Regions from separate parts of the Homo sapiens genome. Here region 1 is linked to region 2. Evidence: promoter capture Hi-C in 16 types of primary human blood cells and fetal thymus (Javierre and others, 2016). All regions are on one chromosome and are shown on one strand. The core of a region is centred on a gene start or on the middle of the fragment in contact, and the rest is flanking DNA. Distances in the headings are between cores, read along the strand shown.

Region 1 (2,771 bases), core at 130-2,629, 690 kb before region 2:
TCTTGGCCAAGGGGATTCCAAAGTTAACCTAAAAAATTAATTCAGGCCATGATGGGAAGTGGGATCCACACATGTCTCATTATGCCCTCATCCTTTTTGTAATTACTGATAGAACAGACTCTTTGAGTCTGATAAGAATTTACAATCTATTCTCCCTGAAGCCTGCTACCTGGAGGCATCATCTGCATGATAAAACCTTAGTCTCCACAACCTCTTATTGTAACCCAGTCATTTCTTTCTATTGATAATAACTCTTCCAACCAAATGCCAATCATAAAACCTTTAAATTTACCAGTTACCTGGAGGCCCCCCTCTGAGTTGTCAGGCCTTTCTGGACCTAACCAAGGTACATCTTATATACGTTGATTCATGTCTCATGTCTCCCTAAAATGTATAAAACCAAGCTGTACCCCAATCACTTTGGGCACATGTCGTCAGAACCTCCTGAGGCTGTGACACAGGTGTGTCCTTAACCTTGGCAAAATAAGCTTTCTAAATTGACCAAGAGCTGTCTCAGATACTTTTGGTTTACAATCAAAACATGACAGAAGGCATCACAAGGGTGGGCAAGAGGGGGTTGAATTCACTGTCATAACAAACCGACTCTCAAGATAATGACATTAATCAATTTATTAGGGCAGAGCCCTCATGACCTAAACACCTCCAATTAGGCCTCACCCCACAATCCTGTTGCATTGGGGATTAAGTTTCCAACACATGAACTTTGGGGGAAAGTTCAAACCATAGTGGAAGCAATTGCTGTTAAGGTGGCAGGGCTAGCATGTTGAGGACAGCAGTGCTCCTCTGCCAGCCCTAAACTGATCACCACTGGATTTTTACATGTGAGAGAATTACATTTACACTACATTTTCATCATTCTATTTTGTGGTCTTTTTGTCTCAGTAGCTTAGCAATTACCCTAATAAACTCCTTTCTTTCATTTTTAAAAAGGAATATGAATTCATTGTAGAAACGTAACTTGATGATAAGTAGAAAAACAACATAAACGATAGCTATTGATCCCTTTTACTGATTATTCTGTCTTCTGTGTTTAATTGCTTTCTTTTCTTTCTCCTACTCACAAGCTTAGACATACCCCAGAACTATCTCTTATCTTTCTATGCTCTATCACAGAGAATAACTCATGTAGTGCTTGATTTCATCATTAATTTGTTCACTCATTCAAAAATATCTAGTGAGACCTACATTCTGTGAAGTGCTGCGGATAAAAAAATGCATCAGATGTGGCTCCTATTCCCAAGGAGATCACAGTCTGGAGAGGAGAGGGAAAGGCAGCTATAAACAGGTCCTTTTAACACAGGGTGCTGAGTGCCTTGATGGAGCACTGTATGTGTCATTACAGAGGAGGGCACCTCACCAGCTTGATGGGGGCAGAGGGGTGGGTCTCTATGAAGACCCCCAGGAAAAGGTGAGCCTGGTAAAGAGAGTTTAGAAGGAGGAGGGATGAGGGAAAAGGGAGATAATTCTCAGCCAAGAGGTCAGTCAGGAACCAAAAACCCAGATGTAAAAACTTTCAAGGCATTTGCCAGAAATGCAGTATTGTGCTGACATGTGAGAAGTGCAAAGCAAGGGTGTCAAGAGCTGAGCTGACAAAGGGGTGAGATCACACAGGCTTTGCTTATAATACTATGGAGGCTTGGGCCTTCTCCTGATGAAGCTTTAATGAAGAGTATTAACCAGAAGTGTGAGATTATCAGATCTACCCATAGATAGAGTATTCTGAGCGGCTGGGTGAAGGATAGGTTTCTAGGAGGTAAACAGGGTGGAAACAGGGAACGAGTTTGGAAAAGCTATTTGCAATGGAGTAGTTAAGAGGCAGTGACAGGTAGATCTAAGGTACTGGAATGAAGAATGAAGAAATAAATGAACTTGAGAAATACTTAGGAAATTAAATGGGCATGGCTTGGTGACTGAAGAGGAAATAGGATGAAGGATAAAAGATGACTCCTGGGGGTCTCACTTGGGTGGCTGGCAAGATGAGGGTGACACTGTTAGTGGCTTAGCTATCATCTGCTTATGAGGTGGCTTATCGAAGGTAAGGAAGCTTAACCTTCAGACTCCTTTCCTTGCATGAAGCCATTCAAAGGCTCTGGGAAGGGCCCTAGCAAATTTTGTATACTTGAATCTGTATTCTTTTTCTTAAACAGAGCCCCTACCCTTTTAAAGCTGGTATTAGCTTCAGACACACAAAACCTGAATCCACCCTGCCCGTCCCCTTTCAAGTCATCTTTCTTATTACCAGTAGATTAATCTTCCTCAAAACAAAACGTTGACATCATGTCAATCCTCTTCTCAAAAGCTATTGTCATCATGACAACAGACTTTATTAACTTGACAGTTTTACTTTGGGGTGGCCCTTTACTGCCTCTAAAATTCATCTCCCTACAAATCTTTCTAGTTCAGAAAAGTAACTTTGACCTGTCTGTCCAAAAGCAGGAAAATAATTTACAAATGTTTGAACTCTTTGGTTCTTAGACCTATCTACCAATTGAGTTGCCTTAGTTGCAATTACTCCGTTGTACTTTCTTGTTTGTCTCCCATATTCTTGCTTTGTTTTTATCCCAATTGTGGCTTTTTCTACTTTAAAACACTTGCCTAATCTCAAACCTGGCTATTCAGTTGTGTTTGGCATGTCTTGTACCTAAAGAAACCACTGGCCTATGCACACATCACTCTGTATCATAGTCGTTGGGCACATCCAGCATGTGATTACACTTTAGAATTCTGTTTTTGGTCACGTTAAGTCAAAG
Region 2 (2,805 bases), core at 139-2,638:
CTACCTAACTAGCAAATTATAGGCTGCATTTTTCTGTGCATTATTTGTTGTAAAGAAAACATTTTTTTTTCAATTTATAAATGTATGTTTGTTGCCATTTCATGGAAACAATGAAAAATGTGAAACTCCCTTATTTACTGATTCTTGGAACCTTTCACACACCAAATCTCAGGTTTAGCCTCTAAAGCGCAAAGGTTTTCAGGGTGAGGTTTGACTCAGTAGGCCTTTCAAAGTCACATCTGTCCATTTCTTTTTCGTGCATATACCCCCAAGCAGGCACAAATGCCTGTAATGCTGAGAACCACACCTAACAAAAGGGCGATTGCATCACCGGCTTCTACTGCTTCCACAACAGGCAGCACCAAAAGCAGTGACATGAGGACTAAGGACAACTGTGTTGAAACTGAGGTCATGATGTTGGAATCTTGAGGGCTGAAGGTTCCTAGAAATTAAACATGGAAACAAAAAGGAACCATTAAAAATTCCTCCCTTTTCAAATGACAAAATGAACACATGACAAATAACAGGCCAGCCAATCTTTTGGATACTTTATGAATCATTTCCAATCCATCTCCTCATCTTATAGGTGGAAAAACAGAGGGACGTTAAAGACAGTAATTTGAGGTTCATCTCCCTATCTCGTGATAACACTCTAAACCCAGGAATTTTCCACGATAATGCCAACACCTCGTGCATCAACCAAACAAAAATTGAACAGGAGTTCATAATTAAGAACAAACAGAAAAAAAGCACGAGCCACTAACTTGGAAACTTAAAATATCCTAGTGGGTAAAAATTGTACATTTTCTTAGGGTCTCTCCCATCCAAGAAATGCAGACAAATTTGGCAAAAGTCACACAACATATAACTCTGCGAAGTTGTGGGGAATTAATAAGACTTACCAAAGAAATGGTATATATAGAATTCTATCTGACTTGAAATTTTCCCTTCCTGGAGCTCCGGATGCTGAGATTAAGAGGTTCCACGTGACACGACCTATTATTAGCATGGGGGGTGGGGAGGGGGCGGAGAGAAGGATTTAAAAATTAATTATTATTACTATTATTATTTTAAAGAGGCAGCTAGAGTCAGTGCAGAGCGTGGAGGCCATATGGACGGTAGGGGGATAGGTAATGAGTTGAGAAAAGTCTGTCCAACAGGGAACTAGACTTAAAAGTTGGTCAGTTCACCCACACAAGAAAAGGTAAAAAGAAACAGAACAGAGATAATTTCATTTCAGGACTTGATATTAAGATTTGAAAAAGAATTCGTACTTTGGCCCGGCAAGGTCCAAATTTGCTCCTGTTTTACAAATACACTGGTGCAACCTAAGTATCCTTTGGAGACGAGTTCGTACATTACCTTCTAGGAAGCAGCCATTACAGGAATGGCGAGGAGGGCGGAGTCTCCAAACTACATTTCCCACAATCCCTGCCGCCGCCGACTCCTATGATGCCCCGGCGCGTTCCCCCTATAAGTAGCAGAGGGCGTGACGGTCACGCTCTAGCGGAGGCGAAGAGTCGCGAACGCGCGGGACTTCCTTTCCCTGCCCAACGTTTTACTATTAAATAGATGGTTTCGTGTGTTTATATAAAAGCTCACTTCAAAATAAAAGAAATGATAGCAAGTGTTTTCTACCCTGTTGAGTCTGTAAGGCGCACATGTAATTTTGTCTTTTTCTTCGACTGAAATGACACAGCGGGGAGAGAGAACCCAAGTACAGCCCTCTGTTCCGGGTGCTTTTAAACCAGTGGCTTCCAACGTTTCTGAAGCAGGAAATCTCTGTCACCATCTTCCTAATGAAACATATGCCATTTATTAATTTTTTAGTCAATGGGGAAAAAGCGCGGTTAATAAGACATATCGTAAAAGGTTAAAAAACATTTGTAGTGCAAAATAAAGTTTAGGAAAAATGGGTTTAGCCCTGTTGCAGAAGATCTCTCAGGATTCAGGTCCTAAAGTGACAATCTATTCAGGAGTGCACTGCGGTGATTCCTTCCCACCTATGTTTTTGTGAAACCTCAGCCCCAAATGTCCCTACATATTTGTGAAAAGATGTAAAAATACTGCTTTTAAATCATAAAACAAGAATTAGTTATTTGTATATGTAAGTCGTAACCTTTCTGAAAGGCGCTCTTTCAATTGTCTGCTAATTGTGAACTCCTTACTGAACCTTTCTAGTCATCTGATCTTCTGAACTCTTTCATATTTACTGATTTGAAAATTTATTTGCTATCCTTACATTATAAATTATTAATGATGAGGGTTGGGTGTGAAGCCACCTGCCTGGTCTGAAAGTCCCCTGGTTCAGTCTGTTAGATAATGCAGGTACGTTCAGTTCAATGCCAATAATTAGCATGTATTCTTGTGTTGTCGGTTACCCTTTTTCTTACACGTTCCTAGTCTCTCTAGCAAAGATTTATATTCTTGGCTCCTAACCGGCACCCAGCAGGTGCTCAGTAATGTTGCCTAATAATAATAATGATTTGACTAGATAAATATGCCAACAAGATCTTATGAGAGACCGAGAGGTGCCAAATAAACCAAACCAAGGTGACTAGAAAATTGGAAATCTGAGAATAACTGCACAATAACGTCAGCATTGTTTCTCTAACCTTGATTATTTTAACAAGGTTTTGTTCATTTCATCCTTTGTTTTGAGCTACTTTCGTGCCTTTGTAATCAATTATATTTGGAATAGGAGTTATATTTTTATAGCTTCCAAAATATTCTCTCATATCCTACTGTGAACATTTTGTTTTTCCCTACATGTTTATTTTTCCTTATGTGTTTATTTTAGTTAGC

The links. Contacts are between HindIII fragments. The CHiCAGO score rates a contact against its expected background, and 5 or more counts as called.
Region 1: a contact is called between a fragment that was not itself captured here and the fragment with the promoter of SMIM30 in region 2, in 1 of 17 cell types (naive CD4 T cells). The highest score is 5.2, in naive CD4 T cells.

Annotation. Positions count from the first base shown.
Region 1 is chr7:112,426,601-112,429,371 of GRCh38, forward strand. LOC105375457 (a long non-coding RNA gene) reads right to left here. Exons shown (of 3, transcript XR_001745325.2): 3 at 1-2,771. It also overlaps a transcript of IFRD1 not described here. Among named protein-coding and RNA genes, the nearest start is that of IFRD1, 22 kb to the right of the region's middle. The HindIII fragment of the contact is 593 bases long and covers 1,084-1,676 here.
Region 2 is chr7:113,117,166-113,119,970 of GRCh38, forward strand. It overlaps SMIM30 (small integral membrane protein 30), which reads right to left and starts at 1,389. Exons shown (of 3, transcript NM_001352688.2): 1 at 1,363-1,389; 2 at 903-996; 3 at 1-442. The coding sequence starts at 413. The coding sequence ends at 234. The region is part of intron 2 of LOC107986837; the gene reads left to right. RefSeq lists enhancers at 1,160-1,754, 1,649-1,788. The HindIII fragment of the contact is 11,880 bases long and covers 1-2,805 here.